Regions from separate parts of the Homo sapiens genome. Here regions 2, 3 and 4 are each linked to region 1. Evidence: promoter capture Hi-C in human tissues and cell types (Jung and others, 2019). All regions are on one chromosome and are shown on one strand. The core of a region is centred on a gene start or on the middle of the fragment in contact, and the rest is flanking DNA. Distances in the headings are between cores, read along the strand shown. Region 1 holds the start of RPL3 (ribosomal protein L3). Region 2 has its middle 21 kb from the start of TNRC6B-DT. Region 3 holds the start of FAM83F (family with sequence similarity 83 member F). Region 4 overlaps GRAP2 (GRB2 related adaptor protein 2).

What was found. The method cuts DNA at HindIII sites, captures the fragments that hold promoters and counts their contacts. A contact is called where the count stands out against the background at its distance.
Region 2: a contact is called between a fragment that was not itself captured here and the fragment with the promoter of RPL3 in region 1, in 1 of the 25 tissues and cell types used here (lymphoblastoid cells).
Region 3: a contact is called between the fragment with the promoter of FAM83F here and the fragment with the promoter of RPL3 in region 1, in 2 of the 25 tissues and cell types used here (heart left ventricle and mesenchymal stem cells).
Region 4: a fragment that was not itself captured here is called in contact with the fragment with the promoter of RPL3 in region 1 in 1 of the 25 tissues and cell types used here (spleen).

The regions. Positions count from the first base shown.
Region 1 is chr22:39,318,043-39,321,225 of GRCh38, reverse strand. RPL3 (ribosomal protein L3) reads left to right here and starts at 1,603. Exons shown (of 10, transcript NM_000967.4): 1 at 1,603-1,631; 2 at 2,634-2,826. The coding sequence starts at 1,629. SNORD43 (small nucleolar RNA, C/D box 43) reads left to right here and starts at 2,113; the gene lies at 2,113-2,174. RefSeq lists enhancers at 1-834, 999-1,418, 835-1,724, 1,809-1,858, 1,725-2,614. The HindIII fragment of the contact is 19,716 bases long and covers 1-2,601 here.
Region 2 is chr22:40,063,836-40,067,018 of GRCh38, reverse strand. It overlaps a transcript of TNRC6B not described here. Among named protein-coding and RNA genes, the nearest start is that of TNRC6B-DT, 21 kb to the right of the region's middle. The HindIII fragment of the contact is 3,031 bases long and covers 190-3,183 here.
Region 3 is chr22:39,993,449-39,996,631 of GRCh38, reverse strand. FAM83F (family with sequence similarity 83 member F) reads right to left here and starts at 1,678. Exons shown (of 5, transcript NM_138435.4): 1 at 1,101-1,678. The coding sequence starts at 1,589. It overlaps LOC124905155, which reads right to left. Exons shown (of 2, transcript XM_047441700.1): 2 at 1,864-2,284. The coding sequence ends at 1,864. RefSeq lists a silencer at 1,636-1,755 and an enhancer at 1,330-1,963. The HindIII fragment of the contact is 11,866 bases long and covers 1-3,183 here.
Region 4 is chr22:39,935,116-39,938,298 of GRCh38, reverse strand. All of the region lies in intron 1 of GRAP2 (GRB2 related adaptor protein 2), which reads right to left. Among named protein-coding and RNA genes, the nearest start is that of TMA7B, 24 kb to the left of the region's middle. The HindIII fragment of the contact is 9,705 bases long and covers 1-3,183 here.

The DNA of each region.
Region 1 (3,183 bases), core at 354-2,853:
TTTTGAAACATATGTGGCCCCCAGGATTTCTAATAATGGATTGAAGATCTATCACTTATGTCCTTCGGGAATGGTGTGAGGATTGAGATAATTTTTTTTTTTTTGAGCTGGATTGCACTGGCGCAATCTCAGCTCACTGCAAACTCCGTCTCCCGGGTTCAAACGATTCTCCCGCCTCAGCCTCCCAAGTAGCTGGGATTACAGACGCACACCATCGTGCCCCGCTAATTTTTGTATTTTTAATAGAGACGGGGTTTCGCCATGTTGCCCAGGCTGGTTTCGAACTCCTGACCTCAGGTGATCCGCCCGCCTCGGTCTCCCAAAGTGTTGGGATTACAGGCGTGAGCCACCGCGCCTGGCCGAGAGAATGCTTTTCAAACGACGGTGGGAGCAAAGGCCAGGCCCAGAATTAAAGAAGATGACAGGGTGGGACAGAGGAAGCAGGTGATATGAGAGCGTGTGCTCTGGCGCAGCCATGAGGCTGAAGTAGACGGTTAGGGGAGCGTCTTTGGTGGCCGCTGAAGTTGATGCTTAATTCCGAGGAAACAACGAGGCGGCCATGGAAAGTAACGAGATACTTGATTCTTAGAAAGATTTGTAGGGGGCCAGGCGCGGTGGCTCACACCTGTAATCCCAGCACTTTGGGAGGCCGAGGCGGGCGGATCACGAGATCAGGAGTTCAAGACCAGCCTGGCCAACATGGTGAAACACCGTCTCCACTAAAAATACAAAAAAAAAAAAAAAAAAAATTAGCCAGGCATGGTGGCGCATTCCTGTAATCCCAGCTACTCGGGAGGCTGAGGCAGGAGAACTGCTTGAACTGGGAACCGGTAGGCGGAGCTTGCAGTGAGCTGAGATCGCGCCACTGCGACAGAGCGAGACTCCGTCTCAAAAAAGAGATTTGTAAGGGACCAGCCTGGAAGCAGGGAATCGGTCAGGATCCGAGTCACCCTGGAGCCTAGGCAGAGATCAGCGAAAGCCCTCGCTGATGCATAGGTCTGGAAGGCGTGGGGCTCCGGGAGGCTGAGCAGCTGGACTCGGCATGACCAGAGGTCGTGAGGCCGTTCCGCAGGCTTGGGACGCTCCTGACCCTCAGAATCAAGCGCGGGCCACTGCATTAGCATGGGAGAAATGGCAGAGATAGGGCTTGAGGGAGGGATGCCCGAGATTAAAGGTATTAAAGGTAAATTGGTGTCGCCGCAAAACCAGCGTGGGAGCCAGGAAACGAGAGTTTCAGTCTTTCTTCGCTAATTCCAGAGATAGCTGCATATCACAGGAGGAGAAGCGACGCAGCCATTTTTCTTCGTTATTATCAAATTTGGCTGCTGCCGGACGCCGTAGATTTGTGGCTCACCCACCCTTAGCCCACCTCTCCGCGGCTTTTCACTAAGTTTGAACCCGACCCCTCGCCGTAGAGTGTGTAATTTCTGTCTCCGAAGCTGACGTCAACTTCTGAACGAAAGCTAGGAGCGGAAGAGCGTGCGTGGAAATGGCGCTCGGTACGTGCCCCCGACCTGTCGTCTGCCGCGGGGGCGCGCTCGCACGCCGGAAGGGGCGGGGCCAGATTTGGCTTTATATAGCGGACCCGTAAGGCCGACCGGCCTCTACCGGCGGGATTTGATGGCGTGATGGTATGTGTTGTAATGGCGGCCGTTTCATTGTCACCGGCGTCGGCACGGCTGAATCCGCGACGCATCGCCGCCATCCCGTCTTGGCCGGCGCCGGGGGTTTGCTTTAGGGGCACGGGCGACCCAGCGGGGACTTCAGTCTGGCCTATTTTCTGGAAAGTCGAGAGGCTTGTGAAGAGCGCTTGGAGGACTGGCTTTGGGCCTGCAGGTCGGCCAGAGAGAGGCCGTAAGGGTGGGAGCAGGCTTGGAGGCCCGGCGTTTTTAAAGCCATGAGTCATTTCTAAGTTTCGACCTCACCAATTCTATCATTAGTTGGGATTAGGGCCCATAACCTGCTTGTCTGGGTAGAAGGACCTTGGGTGGAGGTTCTCGGCGCCGTTCTCATTGGGAGGTAAAGAAGCTTGGGGGAGGGGAGTGTTGTGGAGTCCTCCTGAATATCTGGGGCCGCTGGTGCACTCCGAAGGCCTCTGGAGCTCGCAGAAACCACAGATGATGAACTTATTGACGGGCGGACAGAAACTGTGTGCTGATTGTCACGTTCTGATTTGGCTCTGCGGAGTTCTTTGGCCTGTGTGTATCAGTGTAATTAGTGTCCGGGCACCGGAGGCAGCCTATAGCTTAACATTGCTAGCTGCTACCCAGCGTTTGTCCCGGGAGTCCCTTTCTTTAGCGGTCAAAACCTTGCTAATTGGCATATAAAGCTGCCTGTTAAGCAGTTTTTAGTGCCACTACTTAGTGTATTTTTGTGTGGTTAGATAAAAAAAATGGGTCGTTTTCTTACAGGTTGAGAGGATTTGAAATAAGATTCAGCTTAAATTTTGTCGAATACAAAAGCATTCTTGACACGTGCGAGCCTGGAAGAGATAATGACCTTTTTATTCGGCTTGCTGGGTGTCTGGTCAGGATTCTTCAGTATTGCTGAGATTTGGAACTTAAGCAGCTGGGAACTAGAGAAGGGGGCACTGCTTTGGTTTGGGTGCTGACGGTGATTTTTTTCCCACCTAGTCTCACAGAAAGTTCTCCGCTCCCAGACATGGGTCCCTCGGCTTCCTGCCTCGGAAGCGCAGCAGCAGGCATCGTGGGAAGGTGAAGAGCTTCCCTAAGGATGACCCGTCCAAGCCGGTCCACCTCACAGCCTTCCTGGGATACAAGGCTGGCATGACTCACATCGTGCGGGAAGTCGACAGGCCGGGATCCAGTATGTACAGACATCCTAAAAGTTGGGGGAATAGGAGTGGAGGGGGAGGGAAATTGTAGAGATGGAGTCAAGCTGTTAGCAGAGGGCAGACTTTTTTTTTTAAGCAGGAGTTACACGTTGTCAGAACTGCTGCGACAGCAGAATGGGAATGCTTAACTTGAAAACTAATATTCCAAGGCTACAGATGGTCAGCACTGTTTGCTTTAGGTGCGGTGTGGGGTATTGATTTCAGAGCATAGTAAATTTGCCAGGAACCTTAGCAAAGAGAAGTTAACACTAGTGTGGGGGGTTGGAGCTGCTGAGGCTGGCATAAGAACTGCCTCATTCATGTTTTTTTCACCTGAAAGCTTGAATAAT
Region 2 (3,183 bases), core at 456-2,955, 750 kb before region 1:
GGTAGGAGGATCACTTGAGCCTCGGAGGTTGAAGTTGTAGTGAGATGAAATCATGCCACTGCACTCCAGCCTGGTGACAGAGTGAAACTCTGTCTCAAAAAAAATTTAAAAAGAAAAAAAAAAAAAAGAAAAGAAGCTTCCACAGTTAAGAGTGCAATGTAGTAAGGAGAAATGTACAAAAGTATTCAAATATCAGTAAGTTTATAATCAAGTTGGAGGGAGACTATCACATAAAACCAAGCTTTCTTAAATACTTCAGTTCAAATTTTAAATATAAACAATAATATATACCAGCAAATATAGAGAAGCATTCAAACTAAAGTTATTTTTCAAGATACACACCCCTAAGAAGTTTTATCCTTATCTTAATCAGGTTACCAATGAAAATACTTTGCAACTCTTATTTTGTTTCCAAACTAGTTTACAAATCACACAAGGAAAGCTGCCTTATTACACTGAGCTCATTTTGGACCTCAAACAGTATTACCCAGATGAGAAATCACATATCCAGACCTGAAAACATACTCCTGGTTGCTCCTCAAAATCAAATCCATCCTGAAAGAAGGAAGATATTCCCCCTACGGAAATTCCAAAGAATATCTCATACTCTGGAAGCAACCCCTAAAGAATTCCTGATATTTTAAGAAAAGGCAAGACTTCCGCTTCCAGAAAAGGTGAAGTAACGAGAGCAATATTTATCCTCATACCTGAAACAACTAAGAAACTGGATGAAATATATAAAACAGTTTTTAAGATACTGGCCACAGGCAGCATGGGACAGTGATGTGATCCCTGAGACACGGCAAATGAAGAAGGTGGCCTATGACTGGCCTAGCTTGCTGCCTAGGGAAAGTTTCCCAGTCACAGAACAGGGAGGGAAACCCAGGGGGAACTCAGAGGAATACCTTTACTTGAGGAGCCAGAGCTAGATTCTGAAAAGGCCAAGGAATCAGAATTTGCAGCATACAGTAGTACCAAGAGAGAAAAGAGCTGCACAGAGAAAGAACTCCAGAGATCTGTAGGAGACCCTCTGAGTATTCAGCTGAGTTCAAAAACAGCACGTTTATGTGAGAAAACTGCCCTAAGCTGGGGAAATAACTACCCAAAATGATTAGAAGAAACAATCTTTGGAACTCACACGGGGCCAGGAATTGTGCCTAATCTCACCAGACAGAGTAAAAACCATCATTCGTGGGGCACTAAGTAGAAGACTCAGAAGATTCAGTTGCTTCAGTAGTGAAGAACATTAATCCAAAGTACTGTTCTGCTTCCATCTAACAGAGCTTAAAAGCAACACCCAAATGGATCAAACAGCGTCGATCCAGAACAAAGCTCAATAATATTTACAGAGATACACAAAGATCCACCATCCAATAATATAAAACTTACAAAGTTTAGCATCCAATAAAAATCACCAGACATGAACTGTATGCCAACAAATTAGAAAACCTAGATGAAATAGACAAATTCCTAGAAAGACACAAACTACCAAAACTGACTTTGTAAGAAACAGAAAATCTGAATAGGCCTATAATAAACTAAATTCATAATAAAAAAAATTCCTATAAAGCAAACCCCAGTGCCAGGAGAGGTGGCTGTAGTTGTAACGATTTGGGAGGACAAGGTGGGAGGGTTGCTTGACGCCAGGAGTTCAAGACCAGCCTGGGCAAAATAGCAAAACCCTACCTCCACAAAAACAAAATAATTAGCTGGGTGTGGTGGTACACACCTGTAGTCTTAGCTACTCAGAAGGCTGAGGCAGGACGATCACTTGAGCCTAGGAGTTCAAGGTTACAGTGGGCTAAGATCCACTCCAGCCTAGGCAACAGAGCTCACTGGGGAATTCTATCAAATATTTAAAGAAAAATTAATATCAATTATTTACAAACCCTCCCTCCACCCCCACCCTCCAAAAACGAAGGGAACACTTCCCAATTCATTCTATGAGACCAGTATTACCCTCATTAGAAAAAGACACAAGAAAAAACACACACATACAAAAACAATGCTATAGACCATTATCTCTTATGAACATAGATGTGAAAATCCTTAACAAAATATACTAGCAAGTTAAATATAGCAATCTATAAAAAAGGATTATAGGCTAGGTGCAGTGGCTCACGCCTGTAATCCCAGCACTTTGGAAGGCCGAGGTGGGCAGATCACCTGAGGTCAGGAGTTCAAGACCAGCCTGGCCAACATGGTGAAACCCTGTCTCTACTAAAAATACAAAAATTAGTCGGGTGTGGTGGCACATGCCTATAATCCCAGCTACTCGGGAGGCTGAGGCAGGAGAATTGCTTGAACCCAGGAGCCAGAGGTTGCAGTGAGCCGAGATCGTGCCACTACACTTCCACCTGGCGACAGAGTGAGACCCTGTCTCAAAAAGAAAAAAAAAAAAAAAAGGATTATACACCATCACCATGTGGGATTTATCCCAGGAATGCAAAGTTAGCTTAATATACAAAAATCAATGTAATATACCACATCAGTAGAATAAATAACAAAAACTAGATGATCATCTCAATAGAAGCAGCAAAAGCATTTAACAAAATTCAATACCCTTTCTTAATAAAAATGCACCCAAAACTAGGAGTAAAAAGGAACTTCCTTAACCCGATAAAGGCCATCTTAAAAAAAAAAAAATCAGCTAACATCATACTTAGTGGCAAATGACTGAAGATCATAGTGGTCCCCCTGAGACCAAAAACAAGATAAATATCCAGGCTTGCCACTTTTGGCCAACATTGTACTGGAGGACAATTAGGCAGAAAATGAAACAAAGAGCATCTAGACTTAAAAGGAAGAATTTAAACTATCCCTATTTGCAGATGACATGATCCTGTATAAAGAAAATCCTAAGGAATCCAATGAAAAACTATCACAACTAATAAATGAGTTCAGCAAGTTTTCAGGATACAAGATTAATGTATTAAAATCCATTGTATTTCTACATATTAGCAGTGAATAAACCAAAAATAAAATTGTGAAAACAATTATATGTAAACTAACATTGGGCTGGGTGCAGTGGCTCAGGCCTGTAATCACAGCACTTTGGGAGGCTGAGGCGGGAGGATCACTCGAGCCCAGGAGTTCGAGACCAACCTAGGCAACATAGCAAAACCCTGTCTCTACAAAAAATTAAAAAATTAGGCAGGCATGGTGCCGTGCAACTCTGGTCCT
Region 3 (3,183 bases), core at 429-2,928, 680 kb before region 1:
AGGACTCCAACCTCACTCACTGAGTGGAATTTGAGTGGTGAACCCAAGCCACTCCTGTTGTATTATTCTGAATTGGGCACCAAAAGCTGCTGCTGTTTCTTAACAAATCTCAGTGTAGGGCAGCCAGAGTTAGCAAATAAAAGTACAAAACGTTCCCATTCAATTTGAATTTCAGATACACAACGAAGAATTTTTCAGTATCAGTACGTCTCATGTCATGTTTGGGATAAGCTGATACTAAAAAGTTATGTGTTGTTTATTGAAAGTTCAAATGTAGTGGGGCATCCTACATTTGATCTGGAAGCTGCCCAGGACTCCCACCCAAAGGCATAAAGATTAAAGTCTTCCACCTGTTCCACAGTGGACTGGCCTCACCAGCCACCCTGGAAACAGCCCCTCCTTCCAACTCTCAAGCAGGACACATATGCTAAGTAGGAGCCCTTTCCTGAGCTGCCGAGTCAGGTGACCTGCTGTGCCAAGGCGCCCAGCACAGGGCCAGGCACACAGTAGGTCCTCAATATACCCCGTCCCCCATTCATTCCAGGCAGCTGGGGCCTAGTACCCGGCCCAGGAGAGGCTGTGACTGTGAGGGCGCCAGCTCAGCTTTGACTATGGGAGGAGAGGGGTGGTCCAAGGAGCAGCATGGCAGAGGTGGGACCGGGAAGGTCACCGCCACCCACTCCCTGAAGTTGTTTTGACGATCACATGAGAAAGCGGCTCGGGATATGTTCTGGGCAGCACGTAGGTTATCATCAAGACCTTTGAGTGGTGCATTTTAACCACAGGGCCTCGGCCCCCAGTCTTCCCTGGGGAGGAAGGCTGGACAGGGAAGTTTCAGAAGTACAGAGCAGAGCCAGTGCCTCTGAACGCTGGAATACCGACGGCTGACATCTGTCCAGCACCTTGTAATTTGCCAAACACGTTCCCAGCCATTCGCTCTACAGGCCTCACTGCAGCCCCAGGAAGTAGGGGCGGGTTGGGGCCCATTTTCCAGAGGGTGCTCAGGGCGGCCTGCCCCGGGCCCTGCCTGGGAGGTGGGGCCCGGTCCAGGGGACTGGGGCCGAGGTCCCAGCGGTGTGGGGGCGAAGGCGGGGGCCTACCTTCTGGGCCTGTTGGATCATCTGCCTGACCACCTGCTTGAGGTGCGGCGCCTTCTCGTCCTTGGGCGGGTGGGTGAAGAGCGTGACCCGGCTCACGCCGCGGTAGAAACCAGTGTCCGTCCAGCCCAGGTCCAGAGGAGGCACCTCGGTGTCGGAACGGTCGGGCCAGTAGGCCAGGGACTCGCCGGACTCAGCCGGCGCCGGCGCGGGGGCCTTGGCCTTGGCCTTGCTCTTGCCCCGGGCGTTGGCGGCGGGGACGGCGTCCTCGTAGGGGCTCCAGGCGGCCCGCAGGGCCTGGCGCTCCGGGCTGGAGAGGAAGTCCCGCAGCTGCTCCTCCTTGAGCCGCTCGCGGTAGGCCTGCTCGCCGCCGCCCAGCAGCGCCTCCAGCGCGGCCCGCCGCCGCTCGCAGTAGTAGAAGGCGGCCTGCGCCTCGGTCACCTTCTCGTTCACGTGCGCCTCGTCCAGGCAGTTCAGCTGGGACTCGGCCATGGCGCCCCGGCCCCGGCCCCGGCCCTGGCCCCGGCCCCGCCGCGGTCCGAGGTCCCACAGCCGCACCTGGAGCCGCCGAGGGGCGGGGCGCCTCACCTGGCCGCGAGCTCTGCCCCGGCCCGTCCCGCCCCGCCCCGCCGTCGGGGAGCGGCCAATCCGCGCGGGCGTGGCCGTCGGGCGGGGAGGGGCCGCCGCCTCCGCCGGGCTCGCCGGGACCTCCGGGCGGCCTGGCGGACGCGGTCGGGCCCGGGCCTGCAGGGCCCACCAGCCGGGGCTAGAGTCCCTGAGGGGACGCCCCCAGGGGGCGGGGCCGTCGCAGACCCACGTGCGGGCTCCGGCCCCGACTCCTCCGCGGGGTAAAGGTTCGCTGTCCGGCCCTCGCTGCCATCCGCCCCCGCCGGCCGCGTCGCGGGTACGAGTTCATTTTCCGCGCACGTGGAGTCCGGAGCACGTGTTCTGGCCCAGTGGCCTCTGGGGCCGCCGAGCTGACCCCTTCCCCGTCGAGGGTCCGGTGTTGGTGGGGGGGCCTGCTGCAGGACGGGATTGTGACGGCTGAGGAGCGGGCAGGGGGTGTGCAAAAGCGAAATGCTAATGAGAGCTCGAGCTCCCCACCCTTGCGTCCCAGTTCTGAGATCAGAGCCCTTCTGGGCTGGGAGTCCAACACCTTCACTGTAAAACTTTCTTTTAAAAAATAGCTATCCAAACAGAAATGATGTAAAGAGCAGCAGTGGAATTCCCCCCGCCCCCACCTTAATTTGAAGTAGGGTGTGTGGTGTCTCTCCGTGTGTGTTTGGGCAAGATAGGCTGCCAGAGACATGATTACTATATTAGTGATTCAAAATGTATGTTTGAGCTCAAGGAAGGAAACCGCACGTGCGTGCACACCACACACACGCACACACACAGCAGCGGTGGCAGCAGCTCTGCTGTTTCCCATCGGATTAAATACAATCGTCTTAGTCATTAACATATTATGTTGTTCATGCACTGCTCTACAATTTGATTCTCCACATTCAAAATATTTTCAGATCATAACAACTAAAGGTTCACATTTCTCTCACTTTATAGCGCAGCATCTCAGAGCTGGAAGGAGCTTTTCAAGCTCCTCCAACCCCCTCATTTTACAGTTGAAGAAATTGAGGCCTAGCAACGTGTGCGTTGCCCAGGTCTCCCGTGAAAGAGGCAGAGCACGGGGACTGCAAGGTTTTCTGTCTTGGAGGTCTTTCGCTGACATCACGGCCGCCTTTACCCTTTCTCCTTTTCTTGTGAAACGACAGGTTATTGGGGACCTGGTTTTCACCCCAGGGGATTTGAAAAGGTCACTTACCATTTCTAGGCCTTCCTTTCATGCTCTGGAAAAAATGAGAGTTAGATTTTCAAATGTCTGCACATTATTGTTATTATTATTTTTTTTTTTACAATAATCAGTTCTGGCATCCTGTGTCAGCCCAAAGATTGGGAGTGGTGAGCAGCAAGGTGTCCATCACCTCACTTGTCCTTTACCCCTCTTGGGAACTGGAAAGCTTCACTCCTGGTAATGCTCCACTCTTAAGTACATATAGACAGATTGTGTCCTTAGATGGGAGAGCACTTA
Region 4 (3,183 bases), core at 186-2,685, 620 kb before region 1:
CAGGTCCCTGTCTGTCACTGTGGATTATGGAGACTTCATTGGTCTCAAGGATGTTTTTCTCTTTTTTAATTAGCTCCCTTTTTTCCTGCTTAAGGTTTTTTGGGTTTTGGAGGGAGGGGTAGTGAAGGGAGGGAAGTAGAGAAGGAAGAAGACAAGTCAGGAGACTGTCCCCATGCAGGGCCTATCCCCTCCCCTGCCTGTAACTTGGGTGATGCCCAAGGTAGAGCCAGCCACTTCCTTCTTCTTATGCGTATTTATTACCTTGCTCTTCTTTAATCAACGCCAGTCTGGCTTATATAATCTAACTTTTTTTTTTTAGTGCAAGACGCATCACATGAAGTCTCATTTGTCCTCAAACTTTTTGTAAGAAAAGTATCTTTCTCTTTAAGTATAATGTATATGTTCTGTTAAACTCAAGCACATTTGATTCTTTTTTCCCTAATTTGCCACTCTCTGCAAGGCGAGGCTTGCCTACCTCAGTGGGAGGTTTACTACGGGACTTAGGTGTCAGACCTGGCTTCAAACTCTAGGCTCTGCTGCTTACTTTGTAGCCGGAGAACCATAGTTTATCTTCTCTGTGCCTCAGTTTCTTCACCAGAAATGCAGATAATAATCCTTAGTCCCCAGTGTTGCAGGGAAGAGGACGTAGAATACTTGGTTCCAATGCTCAATGTCTCTTTCTTCAAAGCATTTTTGCATTCTGGTTATCTACAATCCTTTCTTGTAGAGACAAATCCAAAACTGTTTCTACAAAGTGTAAGGCCACCAAGCGTATACTACTTTTCAGCCTCTCAAGCACCTATTTTTCCTCACTTTCCCTGGGCAGGCGCTAGCTTCTCCCTATTGCCTGTGGAGTCCTAGCTGCAGTGTTATCAGAAAGTATGACACTAATCAAGACAATTCAGTGAGGAAAGAGAGAAGACAGCACTAACCAAGGGGAAGTGGGGAGAAATGGTGGATGGAGAAACAGAAAACTGACCAGGCTTCTACACTTTGCCATCTATGCAGAGCTCAGTCACTGTGATGCTACCTTTGAGGGGACACACACCACCCAGACTGTGCCAATGCCTAGAAACGTGAACCAGCTAAGAATAAGTTACCATGGATTGATATGGTCTATCAGGTGACAAGAACTTTATAATCGGTCACCCGTTGCAACATTTATTATTGTTACTATCATCCTTTGCATTTTAGAGGTGGGAAATGGAGGCAAGAGATTTCAGTACATGTCTGTTGGCACCTAAGGCTGTGTGTTCTCTTCACTTTGCTGCTCTGCCTCTCCTGCTACGAGCAACATAACCAAATCCCTCCTACTTGGTCAGGATGACTGCTCACTAGCTTAGGCCCTCTCAACCTTCCTGGGTGGCTGTCCTTTAGCCAAAACATTCAAGAGCAATTTTCACATACCCAGGAAATTCAAGCCCATTACTTCTTGGTCAAAGAGGTAAAGACTGCAATCGACCTGGCAGACCTCAGACCAAGCAATCATGCGCTTTAAGGCAATTGCAGAAATGGAAACAATCTCAGCTAATAGACTTACAAACTGTCGCTCTTTTCCTTTTCTTCTGCCGGTCCCCCCCACCACCCTGTCTCTCTCTCTTCCTCTTTCTCTCTCTCTCCTTCTGTCTGTGTCTCATTTGTCACAGTTCTCTTACCTTTCCCTTCATCAACTTTCCCCACAATATATTCTGCTTTTTCCAAGTTCTTTTCTTTCTCCTTGAAACATTAATAACTTACCATGAATCCAGTTAGAGAAAGTGTATCTCGCATACTTCCACTTTTAATTCTCTGACACTTTTCTTATTAAAATGACACCATGAAAACATCAATCCAAAACAACAAAAATAAGGCAAAAAGAGACCACCAACCTCGCTGGAAATGCTACTTCGAGCCTCACTCTGCTGCTAGACTGATGTATCACTTGATGTTTCCTCATTTTATTCTTATTGTTTCCTAAAGCAATAACAATTGTCTACAGAAACACCTCGGATCCTGCTGGCAAAACCCAAACATAAGTGAAGCATTAAAAATACCGCCCCCCACCCCTGAATCAGAAATCATCTAATGAACCCCATCAGAAGGGTGGAGGGCGGGGTGGGGGTGGCAGGGGTAGATGGGAATGACAGTCGAGAGAGACAGACAGACAGACAGACATTTTACAAATCTCCAGGCTTCATTTTCTTTTACTTCTCATTTTCTATTCACATCATGATTTCCCCTGGAATATATCACCAGGATTTTATGGTGGCCTCATGTTCTCTTTTTTTCCCTCTTCCCTTCTGTTCACTTAATGTTTGTTTTTACTGATTTGGGCTCTGAAAGCATGGCTTATTTATCATGGATTTGAAAGCCTCCATCTTCTTGCTCTGTTTTCGCCAGGGCTGTGACATGGTTCACAAATGCTGCAAATACGCTCAGCGCCCCTCTCCTTTTCCTCACTGCCTGTGCCCTGGGCTACCTTAATTCTCATCTGGGCAAAACACAAAAGTGTCAGCAGAGGACGGCATGACCACAATTACTTTAATCTTGCTGTCACTTTTACTTACGCTCCCAAGCCCTCATTTGTTGTTGGAATGCTGGTCATTTTTTCAGCTCACTGATCTCAAAGCTTGCAAAAGTGATCATCTATCCATAGAGAAGCTCCCCTTGCTTCATTCGATAAGTCTATCCCAGAAAAGTGGGAGGGCCTGACATTTTTACAAGTAAAGGTACTAAAAAAATGCCAGTAAAAGGGATAATATGGCAAATTCCTTTCATCAAATGAATTATAATATTCTTATTTTTGGGAAATTTTGTTCTTTCTAATTTGAGTTTGGTTCAACACCTCTTGTATTTGTCTTGTTTAAAATAGTTCTCTTTCTTTTTACTTGCCAGTTTTGATTAAATAGTGCCCCTATCCTAGATTCTCAAAGTTGGAAGTGGCCCAGAAAGTCAGTCTTTTTCCCTAATTCATTGAGATGATAGACAATGGGCATCGGGGACGGCTGGGATTGGAGTGAGCTGACAGCTTGGTGAATTGTTTACGTTGAATCAAAAGCTCTTTCATCTGAATTCTGTGCTAAGAACCACAACAAGAAAGAAAAAGAAAGAATGAAAGAAAGAATGAACGAACAAAAGAAACAGAAAATGAGAATCACAAATCCCAAATTCCCATTTCTAAGCTGAAATAACCCCAGAGTCCTT